Linked DNA regions of Homo sapiens: regions 1, 2, 3 and 5 are each linked to region 4. The links are contacts of gene promoters, found by promoter capture Hi-C in human tissues and cell types (Jung and others, 2019). All regions are on one chromosome and are shown on one strand. Each heading gives the region's core, a stretch centred on a gene start or on the middle of the fragment in contact. The rest is flanking DNA. Distances are from core to core; before and after follow the strand shown. Region 1 overlaps SCOC-AS1 (SCOC antisense RNA 1). Region 2 overlaps SCOC (short coiled-coil protein). Region 3 overlaps CLGN (calmegin). Region 4 holds the start of TBC1D9 (TBC1 domain family member 9). Region 5 overlaps RNF150 (ring finger protein 150).

Region 1 (2,700 bases), core at 149-2,648, 390 kb before region 4:
TGGCTTTAAAAATGTCAAGATAATTAAAGAAGAAGCTTCTGCCAATCAAGAGACAGCAGACAAGTTTCCAGATGCCATTAAGAAAATCATTGAGGAGACAGAATATCTGCCTGAACAGGTTTCTAATGCAGATCAAAGTGCCCTATTCTGGAAAAAAAATCCACAAAGGACATTTATTAGTAAGGAAGAGAAGTGAGCACCAGGATTTAAGGCAGGAAGGGATAGGCTACCTATACTGTTTTGTGCAAATGCAGGGGGGTTATGATCAGGACTGCCCTTATCTATAAAGCTGCTCATCCCTGAGCCTTGAAGGGAAAAGAAAAACATCAGCTGCCAGTCTTAATGGCTGTACAACAAGAAGGCCCAGACAATGAGAACCCTTTTTCTGGATTGTTTCCATCAATGCTTTGTCCCTGAAGTCAGGAATTACCTTGCCCATAGGGACTACCTTTAAATTTTTTTCTGATATTGGACAGTGCCTCTGGCCACCCAGAACCCCATGAGGTCAAAACTGAAGCTGTCAATGTGGTCTACTTGCCCCCAAACACAATGTCTTTAATTCAGCTTCTAGATCCTTGGCTCTTAAGAACCCTTAAGCCTTATTACACAGGGTACTCAATGGAAAGGACTGTCAATGCCATGGAAGAGAATTCTGATAGAGAGAGCATCATGACAGTCTGGAATGATTACACCATTGAAGATGTCATCGTTGTTATAAAAAAAAGTTGTGAAGGTCATCAAGATTGAAATAATAAATTCCTGCTGAAGAAAACTATCCAGATATTGTGCATGACTTCACAGGATTTACCACAGAGCCAATCAAAGAAATCATGAAAGATATGGATATGGCAAAAAAAAAAAAAAAGTGAAAAGTGAAGGGTTTCAAGATCTGGATCTTGGAGAAATGTAAGAGCTAACAGATACCACAGCAGAGGAATTAACAGAAGAAGACATGGTGGAGATTGGTGCTTTCAAACCAGTGCCACATGATGAGAAAGAAGACATAGAAGAGGCAGTGCCAGAAAAATTGACATTAGACAATCTGGCAGAAGGGTTCCAGTTATTCAAGACTGCTTTTGACTTCTTGGACAAAAAGAATGGCATGGCTTCTATGATACAGGCACTGAAACTTCTTTGATAAAGGCACTGAAACCAAAGCAGTGGAAGAAAGGTGTTACCATATAGAAACATTCTAAGAGAAATGAAAAGGAGCAAAAAGTCAGACAGAAATTACAATGTATTTTCATAAAGTTTCACTGAGTGTCTGACTCTCCTTCCTCCCTTTTTCTCCTCCATCTCTTCTGCCTCTGTTGCCTCTGGGACAGGAAGACCAACCCCTTCTCTTCCTCCTTCTCCTCAGCTTGTTCAATGTGAAAATGAAGAAGATGAAGACTTTCATGATGACCCACTTCCACGTAATGTAAATATATTTTCTCTTCCTTCTTACTTTCTTAATAACATTTTCTTTTCTCTAGCTTACTTTATTGTAAGAATACAACATATATACAAAATATGTGTTAATTGACTGTTTATGTTATTGGTAGTGCTTCCAGTCAACATAGGTTATTAGCAATTATACTTTGGGGGAGTCAAAAGTTATACATGGATTTTCCATTACACAGGGTATTGGCACCTCCTAAGCCCCACATTATTCAAGGGTCAACTGTAGGGTAACATCCCAGATCCTGACAAAAGCTGACAGAGGAACTCTAACAAGTTGATTATTTTTATCATAAATGGTTACCAGGGAAACAGAAAACTGTAAAGATCATGTTTGTATAATGCAATTTTAAAAATCCATGAGCAGCCTAGCATTTTAGAGCCTTGCTTGCAATCTTGGGTGCCTCCTTTTCTTTCTTTCTTTTTTTTTTTTTTTTCCCAAATAGAACTTTTATTACTTTTCTAATCACCTCTTTCTTGCCAAACGCTTTTGGAGCAGGTGCTTTCTGGGCTGGAGCTTTTTGACCCTTCTGAGCTTTTGGAGGAGGCGCTGCCTTCTGGCCTGTGGCTTTCTGGGCAGGAAGCTTCTAAGCTGGAGCCTTCTTGCCTGCAGCGGTCATCTTTTTGCTAGAACTTTAGCAGCAGCTGCAGCAGCAGTAGCACGCTTCGCAGCAGGTGCTTTTTTGGGAGAAGCTTTTGGAGAGCTGCCTTTTGAAGCTTCTTAACTTCATTCTTGATTATTCTGTTCCTCATTGCCTTCATAACTTTAAAATGATCAAAATCTGTCATCTTGGCTTTCCTTTCTCTGGCTTCAATCTTCTTGGCCCATCGTGTGGCTGCCCATTTTGTATTGATGTTTGCCTTCTGCCAGGCTTGTCTGACATACTTCTGGTGGGCTCTGTGTGGAAACTTGAGGTTGAAATCAGTGAGCTGCATGCACTTGAAAGGCATGGTCTGTCTCCTCACTTGAGTGCAAGGTCCATCAACCAAAGCCCTGTTTTGATCAATAACATCTACAGTTGCAACCAATTTTCTGGCACGAGGTCCAGAGGGGATGTAGCCCACACGGCCAACCTCCACGAAGCGCCTGAACACCATGTTGGTGGCGTTTGGCAAGAAGGAAGAAGGCCAGGTGCATTCTTTTATAAAATATTAGTTATTGACCAGGCGTGGTGGCTCACGCATGTAATCCCAGCACTTTGGGAGGCCCAGGTGGGTGGATCGCTTGAGGTCAGGAGTTTGAGACTAGCTTGACCAACA
Region 2 (2,700 bases), core at 175-2,674, 370 kb before region 4:
AGCTTAAGGTTATTAGATTTGGGCTTTTAATCATGGAATAATCTTATGTATTGGTGTAAGAGTTGATGAATGACTTTAGCTGTGTGAATATATAATAGTCAAACTGCAAACATTTTGCATCCCTTTTGTGACCTAATTTACAGACATTTAAATTGTGTTGCAGTTCTGCTTTGCCGTTTAATAAAAAGCTATTTCAGAGGTTGTGTGTGTTTTGATATAGTTGCCTAAGTAAATGGGGTATTTAGGTATAGTGGTGTATCCAGGGTTATTCAATGCCACAGAATAGTGTATCTTATTTAAGTACCCAGTTACTGATTATTTAGGGGAATAATATTTTTATTAATACAACTATAACTGGTTATCAATATAAATATCATAGGCTATTATACATTAATTTGGAAAACAAAAGCAAAGCACTCAAAGGATCCAGTATCTCCAGGGAAAAAGGAAGTTGTATTTTTTAGGGTAGGCTAAGCTACTTTAGCAAGAGACCCAGTGATAAAGAATATAAATATAGAAGTTTCTCTCCCAACCAGTGGTTCCAAGGTCAGCATTGCAGGCTAGCAGCCCTTGTTCAAACAGTTATTCAGGGACTTTGGCTGAGGATGGTGCTGCCATTTTAAATCATGGCTTTCAAGTCACTCTAGTTATTCTTCTAATTTGCAGAAAAAGAACATGGAAGTGTACATATGCAAGGTGTTATGGGCTGTGCCTGGAAATGGCTCATATATCTTCTCATATTCCAGTGGTGTGGAGACTTAGTTACATCTAGATACAAGAGGAGCTGAGAAATGTAGTCCCTGGCTGGGAAGCCATCTTCCAGCTATAAATACAAGATTTTGGTGGCTGCTAGCAGCCTCAGCCACAGCTCTTCTTGTGCTACCAAGTATCTTCCCTTACACAGAAAGTAATCCCTCTTCATCCAGCTAGTGATTCAGCTCACAATCTAGGATCTCTATTAAAGGTCCATCCCTTTACATGTGGCTTCTAATAGTCTGACAATCTCTAAACTGATAGGCAAATTATTTGCTCTCACCCTTGCTGCTGCCCATTTATAATGTAGTTGGGACAGGATGGCCAAATAAAAAGTCTCAATTTGGAAAATGGAATAAAGGGAAACGTAAAAATTGTGGAATGCTCCTGGGAGATGTATGAAGATTTTGTCCCTAGCAGTGGAGAAGTTCCTTGATTCAACTATGATTCTGATCTCTGGCAGGGGACTCCCTTGTTCATTGAACTCCATGGTTTCCCCTCTGGAAAGTTACTCCTTATCCATTTTCTTCCATGGCTACCTCAGAAGTAGAGATTGGGTGTTCACTCCATGGGAATTGTGAAGACAGTCCACTTCCTGCTGGTGTGAATTTGGTGCCCATCATTTTAAGGCCAAGCTCATGTTTCTGTGGAATACGATTCTCTCAAAAACTCAAGCCTTTTTATCAGTGTGCTTCTGATTGCATATGCCGAGGAACCACAACCAAGCTTTTGACCAAATTCTCAAAGTATGTATTATTTTTGCCTTTCTTTAATGGAGGCTATCTTGAGATCAACTAAAAATAAGATTACACTGGGAATGTTACATGCAGATCATCACTGCAAAGCTGGGTTCCTTTGGCTTAACGATTGGTAGAGAAGTCTTCATGGGCTTCCCCCCAATCTCCCCCACCTCAAAAATAATTTTGAACCTTTGCTGCTATTCAGACTTCAGAAACAATTGGCTTAATTTCATGAGGTTCCTTGTATCAAAACTTTGTCTATTCCCTTCTATCTTTGCTTGAAAATGTCAATTTTTTTGATACCTTGCTGAAAGCAAGGAATAGCCAATTCACTTAACATTCTGGCTTTTTCCAGCTAGAGCTATCAGATTAGTAGGTGTCAAAATATATCCCCACTGCTTGTCATGTTAATGGTAAGCTAATGCTATATACTTAGTTTTTGCTATGCAATACTTCAGGATAATTTCTTCATTAGAAATATAGGTGGTACACAGTGTGCACAGGGACTGTGTCCAGCTTCTGGAAAAGACTCGACCAAATTTTAGACAGGCACCTCTGAGCCCTGTTTTTGACTAGTCCAGTTTTAGCAAAAATCCTGCTAAATGAGTTTAGAGATAATCCCATCCTCAATAACTGATGATCGTCAACCTGGCCTGTCTTTGGCAAGAATCACCCTACTCTTGATGTCTCCAGTTAGTAGTTTTCCATCCACTGACCTCATCACTGCTCATTGACTATAAATCCTCAGTTGTATTTGCTGTGTTAGTTGAGCCCAGTTTCTTTCCCTTATTGGGTGATGGTCTTAACATATACAGTCCTGAGTAAAGTCTTCTTTACTGCTTTAACAAGTGTCAGAATGGTTTTTCCTTTAATACTTCCTAGTTTACATGCTGGTAGAATAATGTTTGGTAGGGAAAAATCAGCATACTCCTTGTTATGGACTGAATGTGTCCTCCCAAAATTCTTAGGTTGAAATCCTAACCCCAATGTGATGCTTTTAGGAGGTGGGGCTTTTGGGAGATAATTAGGTAATGAGGGTGAAACCCTCATGAATGGGATTGTGTCATTAAAAGAAACCCCAGAGAGCTCTCTTTCTGCCACATAGAAGACAGCAGTCTGCATCTTGGAAGAGGGCCCTCAACACTGATCTCTCAGACTTCCAGCTTCCAAAACTGAGAAATAAATTTGTTTATAAGCCACCCAGTCT
Region 3 (2,700 bases), core at 129-2,628, 330 kb before region 4:
ATTTATGCATTTAAAATTGTTTTAAATCACGTGGTAAAACATTCTCATTGTTGTACAACTAATTTCCAAAACTTTCTTCATGCTCTAAAACTAAAACGCTATACACTTTTAACAACTCCCCACTACCCTTCCCTCCAGCCCCTGGAAACCATCTTTCTAATATCTATCTCTATGATTTTGACTACTCTAGGTACTGCATATAAGTGGAATCATACAGTATTGGTCTTTCTGTAACTGGCTTATTTTACTTAGCATAATGCCCTGAAGCTTCATCCATGTTGTAGCATGTATCAAATTTCCTTCCTTTTTAAAGCTGGACAGTATTCCATTGTGTGTATACACCACATTTTGTTTATACATTCATCTGTCAGTGGACACTTGGGTTGCTTCCACCTGTTGGCTGTTGTGAATAATCCTACAATGAATATGGGTATACAAATAACTCTTCGAGACCTTGTTTTCAATTCTTTTGAGTATATACCCATAAGTTGAATTGCTTGGTCATATGATAATTCTATTTTTTTTTGAATCCTCATACTGTTTTCCACAGTGGCTTTACCATTTTACCTTCCCACCAACAAGGCACAAGGGTTCCAATTTCTACACATCCTTGCCAACATTTGTTCAAAATTATGTTTTTTTAAATAGTAGTCATTGTAATAGGTCCTAATATGGCGTAGTATCATATTGTGGTTTGATTTGCATTTCCCTGATGATTAGTGATACTGAGTATCTTTTCATGTGCTTGTTGGCTATTTATACATCTTCAAGGGAAACATGTCTATTCAAGTCCTTTGCCTATTTAAAAAATCAGGTTTTGTTTTTGTTTTGAGTTGTAGGAGTTCCTACAAATTCTGGATACTGACCCCTTATCAAATATATGATTGGCAAATATTTTCTCCCATTGCATAGGTTTTTCATTTTGTTGTGTTCTTTGATGCACAGAACTTTTTAATTTTGAGTTTTCCAATTTATATATTTTTTCTTTTGTTGTCTGTGCTTTTGGTGTCATATAAAAATTACTGGCAAATTCAATGTCATGAAGCTTTCCATGTTTTCTTTTAACAGTTTTATAGTTTTCTTATGTTTAAGTCTTCAATCCATTTCGAGTTAATTTTTGTCTATGATTTAAGGTAAGGTTACAACCTCATTCTTTTGCATGTGGATAGCCAGTTTCCCCAATATCATCTCATGAGAAGACTGTCCTTTCTCACAAAATGGTCTTGGCACTTTTATAAAAAAAATTTGAACATATATGTGGGAATTTATTACTAGGCTCTTTATTGTATCCCATTGATATATATGTCTGTCTTTATGCCAGTCTCACACTGATTTGATTACTATAGCTTTGTAATAAGTTTTGAAACAGAGATGTGAGATTTCCAAACTTATTCTTTCCCAAGATTGTTCTGGCTATTTGGGGTCCCTTGAGATTCTATATGAATTTTACTATTCTTGCAAAAAGTGCTATTAGGATTATGACAGGGATTGCACTGAATCTGTAGATTACTTTGGGTTGTGTTTCCATCTTATTAAGTCTTCCAATCCCAATGAACACAATGTCTTTCCATTGATTAATATTTGTTTCTTAATTTCTTTCAGCAGCATTTCATAATTTTTCATGTACAAGTATTTTACTTCCTTGATTTATTCCTAAGTATTTTATTCTTTTTTATGTTGTTATAAATGGAATTGTTTTCTTAATTTCCTGTTCATTGTTAGTATACAGAAGTGCAACTAATTTTTGTGTGCTAGTTTTTTTACCCTGCAACTTTAGTGAATTCATTTGTTTGTTTTTTGAGATGGGATCTCACTCTGTTACCCAGGCTGGAGTGCAGTGGCACCATCATGGCCCATTGCAGCCTTGAACTCCTGGACTCAGGTGATCCTCCACTTCAGCCTCTCGAGTAGCTGGGACTACAGGCAAGCATCACCATGCCCAGCTAATGTTCTGTATTTTTCTGTAGAGATGGTTTTTGCCATGTTGCGCAGGCTGGTCTTAAACTCCTAGACTCAACTGATCTGGCTACCTTGGCCTCCAAAATTGCTGGGACTACAGGCATGAGCCACCATGCCTGGCCTTCATTTATTATTTCTAACAGACTTTTGTATTGTGTTCGTGAAATCTTTAGGGTTTTGTACATACATATAAGATCATGTTATCTGCTGAGATAATTTTACTTCTTCCTTTTCAATTTGAATGTCTTTTTTCTTTCTTTTTCTTCCCTAATTTCTCTGGCTCGGGAGAAGTGGAAAAAGCAGGCATCCTTGTCTTATTCTAGATCTTAAAGGAAAAGCTTTCAGTCTTTCACCATTTAGTCTGATGTTAACTGTGGGCTTTTCATATATGACCTTTACTATGTTGAGGTGGTTTCCTTCTATTCCTAGTGTACTGAGTGTTTTTTATTATGAAAGAGTGTTGAATCATGTCAAATGCTTTTTCTGCATGAATAAAGATGATCATGTGTTCTCCCCTCCCTACATTGTAAATGTGGCATGGTACACTGATTTTCTTATGTTGAATCATCCTTGAATTTTAGGAATAAATCCAACATGGTCATAGTATATAACTCTTTTAATATGCAGCTGAATTTTGTTGTCAAGTATTTTGTTAAGAATTTCTGCATCAATAATCATCTGGAATATTGCTCTGTAGTTTTCTTGTAGTGTCTTTGGCTTTGATAACAGGGTTATGCTGGC
Region 4 (2,700 bases), core at 93-2,592:
CTTTCTAGTGAAACCTCTACTATTTCTTCTGCTAACTTTTTCACTGTAAAAAGTATTCCAGTTCTGTTCATTCTAAATAACACAGAGATGGAGAAGGTCCAATTTCTCTAGTATGGTATGAGTTCGAGATTATTTCTAATATGGCACTACTTTGGATATGGGTCTGACTGATCTTATTATCCTGAATGATATGACATGGCTTCAGCAACAATTACAATAATACCTTGAAGGGAGGGGGTTTAGGGAAGAAGTGATTGAGCAAAAATAGTTAAAATGCAGTTATACAGCCAATTATTTTTACAACTAGAACCAGACAATTTGCTTTGCTTTATGTCTAATTAGGTGAAACAAAAAAATTCCTGTTTCCGTATTCATTCTCTTCGGTCATAACTCATATAGGAAATGACCACATCAGTTCCTTACTTATCGCTTCCCTGGAAACAAAAGAGCATTTTATACCTGATCCTGCTGTTGCCAGTAAAGAAAGTGGAGCAAAAATTAACCTTCTTCCATCCCTCTTTTCCATTTGGAAAACAATATTTTTAAGGGGGGGAGGGGAAGGGAATGATGCATTCAATATATAGGGGATAATACATTCCCTCCGCCCCAGACTCACTCTTTCCCATTCTCCTCAACATATCCACTTAAAGAGCGCTCAGTACGCTGAGGGCCCCAAGCCTGACAGAGTCAAAAAAAGAAGCATCTCTGCCCAACCTGAACATCACGACTCTCGATGCCTCGCATACAACGAGGCAGGGCGGGTCGCCCAGCCCCAGGGGACCGGGCGGCGTCTCCCGAGCCTGCAGCCCAGGCCGCGGGCGGCGCCGCAGCGCTCCCGGCTCCCCTCCTGCAGGGATCGGCCACGGTCCTTACCCGCCAGTCCGCCGCCGCCGCCTCCATCGCCGGCGTGGCCCTTCCTCCGCTGCAGGATGAAGTATGGGTTGGCCCTCTCGGTGATCCACAGCGCGTTGGCCAGCAACACCTCCTCCGGGTTCACCCACATGGTCCTGGCTGCCGCGGGCGGGCGCACAATGGGCCCGTGGGTCCAGTCCTGCACCCACCACCGCGACAGGCGCGCACTCCTGGGCACACGCGCGCCCGCCCGCCCGTCCGCTAGGTGCGGCGGCGGCGGCGGCAGGCGACTTCAGGGGGTGGCCCGCGGCGTCCGGGCCACAACAAAGCCCCAGCAGGCGGCCCGGGAGGACGGTGAGGACGCGGGCGCGGCAAGCAGCATCCTCCCCGCGGCGTCGCCGCCCCGCGAGAGCCCGCGGCCGCAGACGCCCGGCCTGGCACTCTGCAGCCCGGCTCCCGGCCCACGGCGGCGGGAGGAGCGGGAGGAGGAGGAAGAGGAGGAGGAAGGGAGCGGGAGGAGGAGGAAGTGGTATAGCTCAGTCCCGGGATCCGGCTCAGCGCCAGGCAGGGCTAAGGGCCACCCGAGCGGATTCGGCCCCGCGGTCAGGGCCAAGCTGGGCTCCGGCGCTGCTGCTCCCGCGGCGCCGACTGGAGCTCCAGAGCCCCTCCCGTCTCTACCTGCTCGAGCTCCCGAAGTCGCCGCGCCTTAACGCGCCGTGTCGGGGCCGCAGGCGCCACTAGGGAAGCCCAGCTCCCCGCTGGAAGGACGCTCCGGACACTGCGAATGAATGACGACAACGCGGCTCACTTGGAGCGGGTCCGGGTTTGTGCGGACTCGGTACCACCGCGGGCTCCGCGCGCCGAGCTGAGCAGCTGTGGCTGGCTTCGGGGGAACCTTCGGGGGAAGCTCCTGGGGACCGTGTGCCAAGCACTGGGCCCGACGCCCATCCCAGCAGGGAGGACGCCGCCAGCCTGCGTGGGTGCGTGTGTGCTGTTTGTGTTTAAGGTTGACGCTCTATGGGATAGCGCCACCCCTTTTCCCAGGAAAAGTGTTTCAAGGTTCCAGACCTGGAGCTCGGTTAGAGACCCGGGGTCGGAAGCCAACGCAGCCAATGGTCGTCGATGTTTTTGTTTCCTGCATCCCCAGGGCAAGTCATGCGCTAAACTTGTCACCGCTTGTGACCCCTCCCCCCTCTCCATTCCATTGTAATTAAAGTGGCCTAGCTAAGTGCATTACATCACTTCTTTCCTTGACCTGTAGGGCGTGAGCAATAGAGAAGTTGGAAGCGGCCCAAAAGCTTAGACCAACTAATTCACACCACAGCTGTTCCTATATCGCATTTGGGGCTTCGAAAACTGGGCATGGCAGAATTTTAAAATTTATCCACTCTTGGTAGATGGATTTTTTTTTTAATCAGTGAAACCAGAAACACACAAACCAGGGCAGCTTTATCCCTAGACAGTTTCAGTTTCCCCAAATACTTCGAGCTTCCAGTGGTGATCACAGCCCATCTGCCTACATATCTGATGACCATTTTTTTTTCCTCCCGCCCAGGAGATCTGGAGGATAGTTCAGCCAAAAAAAAAAAAAAAAAAAAAAAAAAAAAAGTTCCTCTTCCCAAATGATGGGAATTTAGCAGACTCTGCTTTGTTGTGGATGCTGGGCAATCCTAGGGACTTTTCCCTTTCCAAATGAGCAGAGATTCAAATGAAACCTTCTTGTGTGGGCTTCAAAATTGTGACTTTTGTAGCTCCGACTTGAATTGTTGAATTCCTTCAATTAGTCGAATGAGCAAATCACCAGCCATTCTAATGAGACTGCCATTTCATCTGTTCGCTTCCTACCGC
Region 5 (2,700 bases), core at 78-2,577, 370 kb after region 4:
TACAAACTCAATAGGAGAATCTTAAATGTTCATCAATCAAAGGGAACTGGAACACCCTGTTTCAATTAGCTGAGCCACAAACAAATTGGCACCACTGCTCTGGCCTCTTCAGTATGAAAGGGTAAATAAGGAGTTCTTTCCCAAGGCTGCCAGGAACTCAGTGAGCCTCAGAGGTATGATGATCCAGTGTGTAGCTCCTGCATGTCGTTGTGTGTCACTGGGTCCAATGCTTAGAAGGGCTAACATTTTTTGACTGCTTTGTGCCAGCTACAGATTTAAACACTGTACATGCATTAATCCATCTAATTCACATAACAAGCAATCGAGGTATGGTGTTATCCTCCACTTCACAAAGGAGGAAACCCAAGACCTGGGAGGTTAACTTGCACAAAGATACACAGTGAGAAAGTAGTGCCACCAGGACACAAATCCAAGTGGTTGGCTCTAGAGGCTACACTCCTATTTAATTAGTGCCCTAAACTGCCTCTAGAAATTTCTGATATCATCATTTTCCTTAGGGTACACCGAAAGAAGCTTCACAGGCAGGCATCAGACCAGCTTTGAGGAGGTAATTTGAGTCTCACTGCCTTTGCCTATAACTGAAAGTTCACTTCTGGGGCTTTTACTACTTGGAAGATGCATTTCTCTATAGCTTTTTGCTATGGCCTTCTTGGTGCTCTTGCACTAAAGATACAGCCTTATGTCCCTTAATAGGGGACATATAAATCTCTGGTCCATAGACTTAAAAAAAAAGTGAGAGAAGCAGATTCTCTCTATTAATCACTCTCTCTTCCCTAGCATAAAAGTGTATGAGTTGAAAGTCTGGAAAAGAATAAATAATGGTGGGTGTAAGGTGAAAGGGAATAAAATGAATAGCAGAAAAAAACAAGACTATGTTAAAAAGTAACAGTTAGTCATCAGGGAAATGAAAATTTAAAACAAAATGAAGATGCCACTTCACATCCACTTGAATGGGCAAAATAAAAAAGATAGTAACAAATGTTGATGAGGCTGTGGAGAAATTGGAACCCTCAAACACTGCTGGTGAGAATGCAAAATGATGCAGTTGTTTTGGAAAACAGTCTAGAAGGTCCTCAAAAGATTAAATCATAGAGTTGCCATATGACTCAGAAGTTCCACTCCTAGGTATATAATCAAGAGAAATGTCCATACAAAAACTTGTACATGAATGTTCATAGCACTATTTTTCATAACAATTAAAAGGTAGAAACAACGTAATTTTCCATCAGTTGATGAATAAATACACAAAATGTGATATATCCATACAACGAAATATTATTTGGCAATAAAAAGGGTTTAAGTACTGACGCATGCTACAACCTTGATGAACCTTAGAAAGATTATGCTAAATCAAAGAGGCCAATCACAGAAGTCCACATATTATATGATTCCATTTATATGAAAGGTACAAAAGAGGCATTTAAATACATGAAGACAGAATGTAGATTAGCCTAGGGCTGGGAGTTGGGGAATAATGGGGAGTGACTAGGAGTTGGGGAATATTGGGGAAGTACAAGAGTTTCTTATTAGAACTAGATAGTGATGATGGCTGCACAACTCAGTCAATACACTAAAAGCCATTGAAATGCATACTTTAAATGAGTGAACTGCAGAGTATGTTTATATTTCAGTAAAGCTGTTATACTGGGGAGGAAAGTGACTTGTTATAAAGCAAAACTACTGGTCTATCCCAGGAGAAGTGGTGTCTTTTTGAATGAGAAGTTATAGTTACATAAGTGGCAGAAAATCAAAATTATTTAAGCAGGAAAAGAAAAAAACAGAAAACGTATATGAAAAGGACAAAACAATTTCTATTTAATTGAATTTCAAGATACACAAATGCATAGATGTTAAACGACAGGTTGCATAACACTAAATACAGACCTTCTCACCTGAAATCTATCAGTTCCAAAAATAAAGCATCTAAGGAAAGGTGATAGATATATCATCAGCTTTTGCAGTTTTTAAAACTTTTTAAAAACTGAATTTAAAAGTTCACAAATATGCAGATTTTCTGGTATGGTATCCCAAGTTCACAAAATAAAAATATTTGATTAGCATCTAAAATGTGCAGTTTCTCAAACTGAATTCAGAAATCTGACCTCAAATTTAACTAGGAAAAGTAAAGCTTTCAAGATCTGGACTACATGGAAGACACTGACAGCCAGACAAGAGCTGGCAGTGTTTGAGATTTAGGCAGAAGAATTTCAGAGTATAGTCAAGGGTTTACCATGCTACCCTGTCATGTATCTGCTCATAATGACACTCTAGCAGAAATCAATGCTAGCCTCTGACTGAAGTGAACAGAGTCTCCTAATGTGGCAAAATGTCAGAAGATAATATGGAGTTTCCTGGCCATTGGCAGATACAGCATGAATACATTTTTGGAAACAGAACAATTAGATAATAGACAATTTCCAATTTTTTTTTTCCTTTAACGTTCAAACTACAGTATTACTAAACTTCCACTCCCACTATCTTAATCAAGCATCATTTGTGTGGGAAATCTGCTTAGTGTTTTCTTTAAAAATAAGCAAGCCATTAATTGATCCAATGTGTTGGCAGTTCTAGAGAACCTTTTTAGACAGGAACAAATGATGCCTCTTACTTTATGTTCAAAGAAGTTGAGTTCAAGATTTCATGCATATGCACAGAGAAACAAAGAATCTCACAAAGTCA

The links. The method cuts DNA at HindIII sites, captures the fragments that hold promoters and counts their contacts. A contact is called where the count stands out against the background at its distance.
Region 1: a contact is called between a fragment that was not itself captured here and the fragment with the promoter of TBC1D9 in region 4, in 1 of the 25 tissues and cell types used here (bladder).
Region 2: a fragment that was not itself captured here is called in contact with the fragment with the promoter of TBC1D9 in region 4 in 1 of the 25 tissues and cell types used here (mesendoderm cells).
Region 3: a fragment that was not itself captured here is called in contact with the fragment with the promoter of TBC1D9 in region 4 in 2 of the 25 tissues and cell types used here (dorsolateral prefrontal cortex and mesenchymal stem cells).
Region 5: a fragment that was not itself captured here is called in contact with the fragment with the promoter of TBC1D9 in region 4 in 2 of the 25 tissues and cell types used here (dorsolateral prefrontal cortex and hippocampus).

The regions. Positions count from the first base shown.
Region 1 is chr4:140,364,323-140,367,022 of GRCh38, forward strand. All of the region lies in intron 2 of SCOC-AS1 (SCOC antisense RNA 1), which reads right to left. It also overlaps a transcript of SCOC not described here and the pseudogene RPL14P3. Among named protein-coding and RNA genes, the nearest start is that of SCOC-AS1, 7.7 kb to the right of the region's middle. The HindIII fragment of the contact is 4,048 bases long and covers 1-2,700 here.
Region 2 is chr4:140,382,354-140,385,053 of GRCh38, forward strand. SCOC (short coiled-coil protein) reads left to right here. Exons shown (of 4, transcript NM_001153484.2): 4 at 1-2,700. Among named protein-coding and RNA genes, the nearest start is that of SCOC, 10 kb to the left of the region's middle. The HindIII fragment of the contact is 3,780 bases long and covers 1-2,700 here.
Region 3 is chr4:140,420,836-140,423,535 of GRCh38, forward strand. The region is part of intron 1 of CLGN (calmegin); the gene reads right to left. Among named protein-coding and RNA genes, the nearest start is that of CLGN, 5.5 kb to the right of the region's middle. The HindIII fragment of the contact is 3,396 bases long and covers 1-2,700 here.
Region 4 is chr4:140,755,043-140,757,742 of GRCh38, forward strand. TBC1D9 (TBC1 domain family member 9) reads right to left here and starts at 1,343. Exons shown (of 21, transcript NM_015130.3): 1 at 874-1,343. The coding sequence starts at 1,003. RefSeq lists a silencer at 696-1,385 and enhancers at 1,041-1,683, 1,684-2,325, 1,816-1,865. The HindIII fragment of the contact is 15,545 bases long and covers 1-2,700 here.
Region 5 is chr4:141,127,973-141,130,672 of GRCh38, forward strand. The region is part of intron 1 of RNF150 (ring finger protein 150); the gene reads right to left. Among named protein-coding and RNA genes, the nearest start is that of RNF150, 4.1 kb to the right of the region's middle. The HindIII fragment of the contact is 3,702 bases long and covers 1-2,700 here.